Regions from separate parts of the Homo sapiens genome. Here all the other regions are linked to region 3. The links are contacts of gene promoters, found by promoter capture Hi-C in blood cells and fetal thymus (Javierre and others, 2016). All regions are on one chromosome and are shown on one strand. Each heading gives the region's core, a stretch centred on a gene start or on the middle of the fragment in contact. The rest is flanking DNA. Distances are from core to core; before and after follow the strand shown. Region 1 has its middle 110 kb from the start of LINC02706. Region 2 overlaps IGSF9B (immunoglobulin superfamily member 9B). Region 3 holds the start of GLB1L3 (galactosidase beta 1 like 3). Region 4 overlaps IGSF9B (immunoglobulin superfamily member 9B).

The links. Contacts are between HindIII fragments. The CHiCAGO score rates a contact against its expected background, and 5 or more counts as called.
Region 1: a fragment that was not itself captured here is called in contact with the fragment with the promoter of GLB1L3 in region 3 in 1 of 17 cell types (total CD8 T cells); the score reaches 5.2 in total CD8 T cells.
Region 2: a fragment that was not itself captured here is called in contact with the fragment with the promoter of GLB1L3 in region 3 in 3 of 17 cell types (activated CD4 T cells, non-activated CD4 T cells and naive CD8 T cells); the score reaches 9.1 in activated CD4 T cells.
Region 4: a fragment that was not itself captured here is called in contact with the fragment with the promoter of GLB1L3 in region 3 in 7 of 17 cell types (naive CD8 T cells, activated CD4 T cells, total CD4 T cells and 4 more); the score reaches 7.4 in naive CD8 T cells.

What each region holds. Positions count from the first base shown.
Region 1 is chr11:134,596,595-134,599,401 of GRCh38, reverse strand. No RefSeq gene overlaps it. Among named protein-coding and RNA genes, the nearest start is that of LINC02706, 110 kb to the left of the region's middle. The HindIII fragment of the contact is 162 bases long and covers 1,295-1,456 here.
Region 2 is chr11:133,914,161-133,916,938 of GRCh38, reverse strand. All of the region lies in intron 18 of IGSF9B (immunoglobulin superfamily member 9B), which reads left to right. Among named protein-coding and RNA genes, the nearest start is that of MIR4697, 17 kb to the right of the region's middle. The HindIII fragment of the contact is 1,001 bases long and covers 923-1,923 here.
Region 3 is chr11:134,275,115-134,277,884 of GRCh38, reverse strand. It overlaps GLB1L3 (galactosidase beta 1 like 3), which reads right to left and starts at 1,506. Exons shown (of 20, transcript NM_001080407.3): 1 at 1,122-1,506; 2 at 434-559; 3 at 1-185. The coding sequence starts at 1,144. RefSeq lists a silencer at 1,328-1,397 and enhancers at 1,848-1,897, 2,048-2,177, 2,238-2,347. The HindIII fragment of the contact is 7,995 bases long and covers 1-2,770 here.
Region 4 is chr11:133,935,471-133,938,364 of GRCh38, reverse strand. IGSF9B (immunoglobulin superfamily member 9B) reads left to right here. Exons shown (of 20, transcript NM_001277285.4): 4 at 404-555; 5 at 872-989; 6 at 2,171-2,312; 7 at 2,603-2,748. Among named protein-coding and RNA genes, the nearest start is that of IGSF9B, 20 kb to the left of the region's middle. RefSeq lists an enhancer at 2,533-2,894. The HindIII fragment of the contact is 4,497 bases long and covers 1-2,894 here.

The DNA.
Region 1 (2,807 bases), core at 126-2,625, 320 kb before region 3:
CTGTTTGCCTTTGGCTGCTGGGGCCTCTGCTTAAGATGTGGTTAAAAACCAAGCAATTAATTCAGCTCATGAGAGCCTGCATGAGAACATCTGTGTCTGAAGCTTTTAGGAGAAGACAGAATAAGATGAGAAAAAAATATAAAAGTAGCAGCTGAAGCACCAAAAACGGTTCTTCCTGCTGAAAGTTCAGAGATTTTGAACAAGCCTCATCTATAAATTCATTATCCATTCTGATTGATTAGAAATACAAGAAATGTAATTAGTTAGAAAGTGTTTTTCTAAATTATGAAATATCTTGGAAACTCATTTCCCATCAATATGTTAATGGACACTTTGATCATCTCTCTTCATTTAAGAAAGTGCTCCTGTTGCCATCATGGAACAAGTTACGATTCCTAGTTTCCAATCATTGGAAAACATTCAATAAATATTTATTGAGTCCCTAATATATGCCAAGAATGGTTACCATGATCAGTCAGGTTTCAGGCATGAAACAAATGGGCAGGCAGTTTGAGGAGCAATATAAGGAATAATTAATAAAGGAGATATTGACAAATGTGTGGGCAATTTGATAGGAAGGACTAGGAATCAGGAATAGAAATATTCAATAGGAAAATCCACAATGGATGCTGAGATCTCCCAGGGCTGTCAATCAATGTGTGGGGGAGCTATAATACCATTAGGCCCCAAGGGGAGTGACCAGGGCCAGGGAGAATCAAGACCCTGCATTCACTCTCCTCCCACCCTCCAGTCTTCAAACAGGGCTCCCCTTGGAGCTGACTGGAGCCCAAAGTCAGGAGTCCCCACTATTGCCCTCAAATGGCCCAACTTCCTGCTGCCCAGAGCAGAGAGGAGAGGGGTGAGGTGGTTGCAGAGGGCCAAAAGGATGATCTGATCTCCAAAGCCTCCAGAGAGAGTCAGAACAAACAGGAGCAGTCCCTGGCCCGAGGAGCTCACGTTCCGGTGGGGGAAGGAAGACAATGACGAACATACAATTTAAAGTCAAGTAGGAAGAAAAGCCAGACGGGACAAAGGAAAAGAGAGTGACTGGAGGCCCGTGCTGGAGCCATCGGAAAGGTGTCTGGGTGCCAACCTTCGAGAATGTGCCCTATGGGCAGAGACTGTGAACCCTTGGGCAGGGAGAACCGTGCAAAGTGGATGGCAATCTGCTTCAGAAGCTCAAGGCATGTTGGGATCGGAAGGTGATTCTTTTTTTTTTTTCATTTTGCTATTGAAACAAGTACAAGGAATTTCCACTTGACTATTACTGCTTAGAAGCAATTGCTGTAAAGCTTTAAGGAATACAAGAAACACTACAGAAAAAAAGACAAGTTCTTAAGCTCCAACATGGGCAGTGTCATCTGTGTCTGAAATGTTTGAGGAGGTCACATCTACCTTCCAGGGTTGCACCATGTTTCGGCTTTTTGAGGAGGGAACAATCAGTAAAATGGAAGCTTTTGGGAACATGCAGTGCCCCACTGGAGGTTACATACAAGATGAAGAGCAAGCTTTGTGGAAAGAGACACCTGAAGAGAGCTGTGCCTCCATGCAGAGAAGCAGCCAGCCCACAGCACTCCAGGAGGAAGACAAGGCTCCATGTCCTGGCCCATGCCCCCCTCCTCTCCACTATTGCTAGTTCTTTCCATTTCTGAAGCCCAGCTGGCAGCCAGAACACAAGAGTGCCTGTTGGTGCAGGGCACCCAGGGAACTCCCAGGGAGGGGACAGGTGCCCTTCCCTTTCCATAGCAGGGGCAGATGGACGCGGTCAGCACAGTGAAGCAATTGCAAGCATACAGCACACAGCACGATGGACTGAGGACTGCAGCCTGGGTGTGCGGGGTCCAGGCATTTGACAGGCAAGTGGCAGCTCTGCTCCAGGAATCCCTGCCCAGCCCGCCCTCCCGCGCCTGCATGAGGAGAAATTCATCGCACTGTTTTAGATTGCACTGGGCACTCTGCTGCCTGTGGTCTTCTAGAATGCCTTGCTGTGAAGTGCAGAAAATCTACCCTACGTTTGATTATACCCTGCTGGCTGCAGTACAGCTAACAGGAGAGGTATATAAAGGGCAAAACCAGAATTTGAACTCTGGCATGCTGGCTTTAAAACCCAAGTCACACGCAAGGAGGTCGTGCATCGCTTCCAGAGCTGGGCCTATGGCCATTTGTGGAAGAAATGAGCAACATTAGTGTTAGGGAATCCAGGTCATATTTAATAAATATAAAAATAAACAGACAATTAAATAAATGCTTTTTTTCCTCTTCAGAGAAGAAAGGTTACTAGATTCTAAAATAGGATACCCTGGGGCATCTGAATTCTTCCAAGAAGGTTTTTAAGAATGGACAAGACTCTATCAGGCACGGGTATTGAACTTAACAGTGTAGAGAGACACAAACTGGGTTGTCTAGGAAAACATTGGCAGCCCAGGGCAGGCTCTAAGCAGAATGAAATAAATACAATGAGAGAGCCATGTCTGGGGCCTTCTCTGATACTGCCACGATTCTTTTCCTCTTGCCTAGTCCTCCCATAGGAGAGATTTTTCAGTCCCATCAGTCTATCCTCATCCCCATTCCTGGTTCCCATTCTGGGGAATCCTGAAGTGTTATGTGCCAGCAGTGCAGTAGCTAATGCGTTAGCGGACAATAAAGAATAACCCTAGGACAATCACTAAGGGCATCCACATTTTAGGGGGCTCATCTCCAAGAACCTCCCTTCTTTTGTTGGTGGCCAATGCTAGAGTGCCTGCTGGGACTCCCCACCCCTGAACCTAAGCTGTCAAGAGATGAGCACCTGGCCCAAAACCTCCTCA
Region 2 (2,778 bases), core at 174-2,673, 360 kb after region 3:
ATAGGGTGAGTGTGAGGGCTGTCAGGCAGCGTTTATGAGCTCACCTGCTCTGGGGCCCTCCTGCGCCCAGAGACCCACTGGTCTTCCACCTTCCCCAGCTCCCTCCCTGTCCCAGCTGTGACTCCTCCACAGCCCCCGGAGGTGTGGGAGCCCTAGACTAGCTCTCACCCCAGCTCCTGGAAATTCCTAGACTCTGCTCTCATGTGTTATTCCTCACCCCTTCACTCAACTCCATTGACCCTCTCCTTTCCCAGTGTCCCCACTGTGCCAGATCCAAGAGAAGCCCGCTCTCCTTTCACTGCTGTGGCAAACCCAGAAACCAGGGGCAGCGATGAGGGACCATCGTTTCTCTCCCGGGCCTGGCCAGCATCCCCAGCCTAGGAGAAGGAGACCCTCCCCATCCTGAGTCAGCCCCTCGGTGCTGGCCTCTCCTGCCTGCTGGGAGCCTCCCCGGTACGGCTGCTGGGTCCTGGGGAGATGCAGGCTCTGTTCAGATGCTGTCTCCATGCTGCACCTTTGCATGTGTGCCCTCTTGGTCTTGCTTGGAGAAGTTGTGACAGCTCTTGTCCACGTGCGTTCTCACTGTTTCTTTTCCCTTCAGTTCCTCTCCTGTTCCTTTGGTCCATATGTAGTTGTTGCCCCTGCCTCTCCTCCTTTCTCTCTCCCTTTTTTTCTCCTCTTCCCAACTCCCTTCTCAACATGGGGAGTTGTATTGCGTGGACCTGTCCTTTCTGTGGACTGTGGGGAGGCCGAGCCAATTCTTAGCTCCTGTCTGAGCCTAGTGATGCCCTGTCCTCACCTCTGCTTCCACTCCCTTTCCCATTCAGGCTGACTGTCACCGCAGGGAGGCAGGTGGGTCTGGAGCATGGAGTGGCCCCTGTCCTGGGTCAGCTGTAGGAAGGGGCCCCTTTGTAAACAAGCTTCTGCCAGGTTCTGAGGCAGAGCACTGGTCTGAGTCCGGCCCCACAGAAGGGTTCCATCTTGTGGTCAGCGGGGTGGGCTCAGACCTGCAGACTCCCGCAGTGGGCCCACCCTTTCCCTTGCTATGGCCCGTCTATGAGTGGCTTTCCCCTGCCTCCATCGGTGTATAATCAGGCAGGTGGTGTTTGCTCTTAGGTGATTAGAAGAGGAGGAAAATGCCCATCAAGCCACTGCTTCAGCCTGTTGGCCAGGGAACACCTGAACAGGGTCAAAATGGTCAGCTCCTGGGCGCTGAGCTAAGGAAATATGCAGGGGGTTTTGACTTTCCCTGTCCTGAGGCTTGCCTCCACTTTGACCTGGCTGCATCTTTCCTCAGCTCTTCTGGGTAAGCTGAGAGCTAAGCAAATAAGACCTCCTGGGCTACCTGGTCATGATTTGGGTTTTGTATGGATTTTTTGAAAAGAGAGAAAAAGAGTGTGGGCTGGGTGCCGTGGCCCAGAGGGCAGATCTCTTGAGTCCAGGAGTTCAAGGCCAGCCTGGGCAACATAGTGAAGCCCCATCTCTGCAAAAAAATACAAAAAAATAGCTGGGCATGGTGGCACATGCCTATAGTCCCAGCTCCTTGGGGGGCTGAGGTGGGAAGATCATCTGAGCTGGGGAGGTCGAGGCAGCAGTGAGCCGAGATTGCGCCACTTCACTCCAGCCTGGGTGACAGAGACCCTGTCTCAAAAAAAAAAAAAAAAAAAAAAGAGAGAGAGAGAAGTAAGTTCCAGGCAATTGTTGGTAGTTCTGTACTGCAAAAAACACCTCTGTGCCAAGGCTTTGAGGCCCTCATCTTGGAGTAATCCCCTGACTTCCTGGGAGAAGGGGAGCCCCAGGGTTCGTAGCATTCCTGCATGCTTTAGAACAGTGTAGGCTGGTTGGGAAGAGAACTGTGACCTTAAATTCTTGGAGAGCCCAGGACTGGCTTCTGGGGTAATGGCATCATCTATGGATCAAGCTTAGATTTACCTGACAGCTGAATTCCAGGGATAGGATGGAGTTGCTTCACTGAAGCTTCCCACCTGAGACATTGGCACCAAGAGCTCCATGACCAAAGGGCCCCAGGTGGGGCTGGCGTTGGCAACAAACATGGTCACCTTCCTAAAACAGGGAGGCAATTCGATTGCACAGGGCTTTACGTGCTGTTGGTAAAGTCTGTTAGGTCACATTCTATGTGTCTTTTCTGTACCATGTGCCAAAAATAGACTCATTTTGCCTGCCCTGCTTCCTCCCTCCTGTTCTGCCAGACACCAGCTTTTGTTTTTTCCTCCCACATTGGGTGAGGGTCTTGGTGTGTCCAGAGCCTTCTTTTGTCCTGTGGCTATGCTTCGGTGCTGAGCCCAGAGCTAAACAGGTGGACAGCAGGTGTCCCGGAAGGGCTGGAGCTTGGCTGTTTCTCAAGGGAAAATCGGCTGCTTCTGGTCACTGGATCATTACTGTCTGGGAATTTTTGCTTTGACGATACAACTTAAGCAGGCTCCTCTCCAGCCCTGGTCTGTCTCACCGGGGCTGTTCCACCAAAGCACAGAATGTCAGTGCTCGCCTCAAGTACGTTGCAAGGCAGATCTATTTCTCAGGTGTGGCGGGGATGCCATGCTTTTCTTCTTTGTAGCTGCTATACCTTTGTGGATTGGGAAGACGCTGGAAGGGCAGTGGAGAGGTGAGCCTAATGTTAAGAGTCTTGGCTCTTTCCCACGATGACTGGATGATTCGACAGGTTGCTCACCTCTCTAAACTTCAGTGTCTCCATCTGAAAAATGGGGGCATTGTAGTATCTACCTCTTAGGTTTGCTGTAGAGATTACAGGCAATTATT
Region 3 (2,770 bases), core at 257-2,756:
TCAGCTTCAGCAGGCGGTCCCTCCAGTACTCCCTGGGCACCCGGAAATAGTGGATGGAGCCCCCGAAGATCAGGAACTTGTGGCCCTCCAGTGTGAAGTGGGGCTTACCCCGACCTGTGCTTTCAGTTCCAAGTCCCACAGATCGATTCTTCAGCTCCAGAGGGGTCAGATGAGACCAATTAAACCTGGAGGGGGCGGGCGAGGGAAAGAAAGTGGAAAGGGAGAGAGGATTCGGGAGAGGGCTCGGAGGCACGGCTGAAACCCTAGCGAAAAGAAGTTTTTGTTAGTAGGACGTGTTCTGTGCATATGTTAGTAGGACGTGTTCTGTGCATATGTTAGTAGGACGTGTTCTGTGCATATTCGCGATACTATTTTCTCCAAGAAAGGAGAGATCGCTCCCCTCCCTCCCCAGGGATGTAGCTCTCAAGCAAACCTAGGCTGGGACGGATGCGCTCTTCCAAGCATGAAGTTCTCTTCCTGCTTAAACCGAGGAGCAAAACCTGATGAGATAAATGGCAGGAAAAAGATGCCCGCCATTCTCTTCCAGGAGAGACACGGGCTGAAAGGAGAAAGGACAACAGTGACAAGGGGAAGGTTCCGGCCCCACCGGGCTGCAAGGGCCGGGAAGCTGTGCCGGGGGCGCTTTAGAGGCCAGAGCCAGGGAGGGGGCCCGCGACACAGGCGGGTCTTCCAGGCGGGCCCAGGGCCAGGACAGCGCGGCATCACCCGGCCAGTCCTCTGCAGCCAGGATGAAGGCCGGGGACAGACGTTCAGTCCTAGACCCTCCAGACAGGGCTGGGCAGTGCCGGTGGGTGCCTGGGAGAGGCGGAGGCGGGCGCACTTCCAGCACCAGGTTCGGGAAGGACACGGTGCCCAGCCGCTGGAGCCCCTGGCCTGCGTGCCCCACCCTGATTTTCTGGCATCTGGTGAACGGCCCCTCCGCAGGGTGGGGGTAGCCAGGGGATCTGCCGAGGAAAGCTGGGGACAGCGGGCTTGGTGGCGCGGCCCGGCGCGGCGCGTGCCTGGGGCGCGTGGCCGGCCACAGAACCCGGGGAGGGTGGAGGCTCCCGGGCACGCGCCGGGGTGGTGGGCAGCCCGGGACGGCAGCGGCGATCCGTCACCTGAGGAGGGGCGGGGACTTCATCGCGGCCAGGCCGAGGCGCCGAGGGTCCCTTGCGGCTTCCGCCCCTCTCCGCTGGCCCCGACGCCGCGCTCGGGCCGGGACTCGAGCCCCGGTTCCGCGGGGCAGGCTCAGGTCTGCGCGCTGCGCCTGCAGCCGAGGCAGAAATCCGTCCCGAGGCGCGGGCGCCGGGTCCGGGTCCCAAGGATGCGCGTCGGGCTCCCTCCCGCGGGGACAGCCGAGCTCCGCCGGCGCTCCAGGTGTTCCCGCAGTGCGTCCGGGCGCGGACGCCTCTCTGCCCTCGGAGGGGAAGCGGGAGGGCCCTTGGGGTAACGCCCCGACCTCGGGCTTCCTAACCTGGGTCGACAGCCGGCTGGCACAGGGAGGCCTGCGCGGGAGAGGGGCGGAGAGAGCGCAGCGCGGGGCACAGCGGGCGGTCTCCGTGCCGCGCGCGCGACTGGAAACGGCGTGCAGATCCTAAAACGAGGGTTCCACAGAGGGCCACGAGGGGCAGGAGAGAGTCCCCGGAGAACTCTAGCTCCCCGACACGGCTACCTCTTGGCAAACGAGCGAGAATTGGGGCGCAGAGCCTTGGGAGGGCCGTTCCCTCGGCGGGAGCGGCCCGAGCACAGCCTCACAGCAGATGCGAGCGCGGCGGGCGCTTTGGTGACGAAGTAGCGGGACCTGCAGGAGGCAGAGGCCTGGTGGGGCCGTGGACGCCACGCCGAGCTGCCCAGACCCTTCCAGAAGACAGTGGGGACTATTCAACGGTTTCCAGCAGAAACTAAGCCAGGTGTTCGTTTTACGGAGATTGCTCGGCTGCAGGGTGGAGGCTGGATGAGAACAGGCGTCCTCTCAGGTAGGCGCTCGTGGTGGTAACGCTGCCCAGGAGGAGGGCACGGGTTCCGGGAAGACTTGCGAGGTTAAACCGGCAGCTCCGGAGAACTGAGCGCAAGAGGTCGGTGACACAGAGAGGAGTCCGGGAGGCCGCATGTTTCAGGCTGAAGTCACTTGGCGGGGACGTTTATTGAGATGCGAAACACAGGAAGGGATAGAGGCTGCGCAGAGGGAAAAGGCGATGGACTCGGTTTTGGAAACGCTGATGTGAAGTCCCTACGATGAAAAAAGAAATCTTCCGATTTCTCCCTTTGAAGTCTTTGCTTCTTCCGTTGCAAAGAACACAGCCTATGACATCAGGTTGAAACCAAGAATGTAGTTCTCTGAAAATACTGTGTGTGGGGGAGGGAGTTTATCTTGTCTCATTCCTTACAAGGATACTTTGCTCTCCGACACCTTAGCTCCCTGAAAGTTTCCTAGATCGTCCATCTTTTCCTCATTTTTTCGACTGCAAGCAATGAACTGTTAATTTTTTACAGTTTGGTTTTACAGCCACACACTTTATTCTTCTTTGTCAAGTTTAAAGTATTCTAGGGCTTGTGCCTTCCCACATAAAATTTAGAATAAACTTGTCTGTTTCTACAAAAAGCCATGTTGGTATTTCGAGAGGAATTGCAATCAACCTATGGATCAAATTGAGAATTGTATCCTTATTATGTTGAATCTTCCAACCCACGAACATGGTATGTCTGTCTATTTAAATAGTTTTTTTTTTTTCACTTCTTTCATCAGAATTGTGTGATTTTTTCAACA
Region 4 (2,894 bases), core at 356-2,855, 340 kb after region 3:
TCCTGGAAACGCGGGGGCCTGGCTGAGCTGGGTTTCAAGAAGTAGGAGCTCCTGTGTGTCATGGATCATCATAAAGGGAAAGACTGAAGGATGGTAGCAAAGCCTGAGGAGCTGGGAGCAGGCAGTGTTTGTAAGGGCCACCCTAGAGTAGATGCTCAGTTAACATCGGTGACCTGGGAATAAGCTACAATACAGAATTTGGACCCAGCCAGCCTGAGTTTGGATGCAGGTCTCCCTGCCAGTGATGTTGGTAGGCAGAAAGTTTTTCCCATCCCCACCTTCCTTCCTTTGTCCTTGCATTCCGCAGAGCCGCAGCGAGGGTGATGTGTGGGGCAGGTACTGTTGTTGCAGGGCAGCGATGTGGCTGATGGCGTGTCCTTCATCTTTGTGGTCTCCTTTGCAGCCCCTCCCACCTTTACAGAAACACCCCCCCAGTACATCGAGGCCAAGGAGGGTGGTAGTATCACCATGACCTGCACAGCTTTTGGGAACCCCAAGCCCATTGTCACCTGGCTCAAGGAGGGGACGCTCCTCGGTGCTAGTGGGAAATACCAGGTGAGTGTGGTTCTAGGTTGGGGCCGCTGCGGTCTCTTCCCCCGTTTCCCCAGGGCAGCCTCCTACTGCAGCCGACCCCTGATGCTACAGGCACAAGCACAGAGGAGGCTGGAAAGCCGTAGCCTGGCTCAGCTGCAGGCGTCTCTGTGTCGCTGGCGGGAGATGGGCAAGGGGGCACCTGCCCTTCGTGTCCCCCAGATGCATCTGTCCCTGTGGTCATCTCCACCTTAGTGTCTCCGACTGCATCTCCGTGTTTGAGGGTAGCAGCGGTGGGTGTGAGCGTGGGTGCTGAGCTCCCTCTGTTTTGGGCTCCCAGGTGAGTGACGGCAGCCTGACAGTGACATCGGTCAGTCGGGAGGACAGAGGTGCCTACACCTGCCGAGCGTACAGCATTCAGGGGGAGGCTGTCCACACGACTCACCTGCTTGTCCAAGGTAGGAGCCATTTCCTCAGCCTCTTTAACCCTGGGCTCCCGCGGGGATGTCCAGCCCGGCTGAGCTACGGAGGGCGTTTTCCCAGGGCTCAGCTGGGGCTAGTGGAGGTGCAGGCGGCCATGAGGACCTGTGCGGGGCTCCTGTGTGCTGCCTGCTGCCCTGGTCAGAGCTCCTGCACCGGCTGCCTGGGAGAGGGCCAGGCCCACAGGCCGTGGCCAGGCACCACATGGCGTGGCAGAGAGGCCCCTGCTGTGTGGGTTTCTGGTTTCTCCTTCTGTTCAGATAGCATCTCTCCCATGTCTCCGCCTCCCTGGGAGAGGAGACCTCCCTGGGGTCATCTATCCATTAGTGACGGCATCAATAAATAAAGATAGAAACTCAATCCAAGCCCCAGACATTTAAATAACACAGTGGGCATTTGGCAGAGCTGGGGTCTGTATGGTCAGCACAGGGAGATGCCAGACTGCCCTGCCTGGAGCCCCAGAGTCCCCAGAGAGGGGCCAGGAACTGTGCAGGATGGGGCAGCGTCCCGGTCGGGGGGTCTCTACCCTGTGCTGAACTCGGCCCCCGGCTTAGCCTCCCCAGCCCTGCCTCCTGGAGGAACTCGGGGGTTGTGGGGGTTGGTGGCGGCTGCATGCTCCTCCTGCCTCTGAGTGCCGAGCAGCAGCCTGGGCCAGAGGTCCCTCAGCAGCCTGGATGGAAGCTGTTCCCTCTCAGGGGAGACTTGGCCGCAGCTGCCCCCTTTGTCTGTGCAGCCAGCACCAGGACTGCTGGACTTTCACCCTCTGCTTACTCCTCGGCCCCTGCACCCCCAGCTGCCCTCTTGATTTCTGGCTGGGGAGCAGCCCACGGCCCTGACTCCTTGAGACTGGACTATTCCTCGCTCTAGATTTGAAAAGAGTTGCCTTTCTCCCTGCTGCATGTCTGGCTCGGGCTCTGCTGGGAGAAGGCAGGCAGGAAGGGGGTGTGCGTGGCGGCTGGTCTGGGGAGCCTGGTGCGGGGGCAGGGGTGGTGGACAGGATGCCTGAGCACAGATAGCATCTGGAAGTGTCTCCATGACAGCCGCCCCCATCGCAGTGTTCAGGGCACCGCTTCCTGAGGCACTGAGGGCTCCCAGGAGGCCTGGGTGCTGCTGCCGTCCCTGATCAGGCGAGGTGGGGTTTGTTCCCTGCTCTCCCCAGGGCCCCCTTTCATCGTCTCCCCTCCTGAGAACATCACCGTCAACATCTCCCAGGATGCTCTGCTCACCTGCCGGGCAGAGGCGTATCCGGGCAACCTCACCTACACCTGGTACTGGCAGGACGAGAACGTCTACTTTCAGAAGTGAGCACCCTGCTCTGACTTTTCAATGAGGTTGCCACCCCAGCCCCCACGGGCAGGGCCCCTGAGCAGAAATTGCACGGGCAGGCTGCCCGTGGCTCTTGGAGCTGGGGGAGGTGGGCAGTCTGGTCCGTGTGTCTCACATGCCAAGGCCAGGGTCTGCATGGAGGGGCCCTGGGGATGCCAGGGGCATGGGCTCTCCATGCCACATCTGGGGCAGTGACGGTGACTGTGTGTCTGCGGCAAGATCCCCTTCTGCTCGCCCAACCCCCTGTCCCCATGCCGCTTTGCAGCGACCTGAAGCTGAGGGTGCGCATCCTAATCGATGGGACCCTGATCATCTTCCGGGTGAAGCCGGAGGACTCGGGGAAGTACACCTGTGTGCCCAGCAACAGCCTGGGGCGCTCCCCCTCCGCCTCGGCGTACCTGACCGTGCAGTGTGAGTAGGGGTGCAGGGGAGCCTGGGTGGTGGGGCTCCCAGAAGGTTTTGGTGTTAGCCAGACTGTAGGCTGGAGGGTAGCAAAGACCAAGCATCATTTGGGGGCATGTAGGTGGAGGAGCGAATAAGAGAAGAAGGAGGGATGG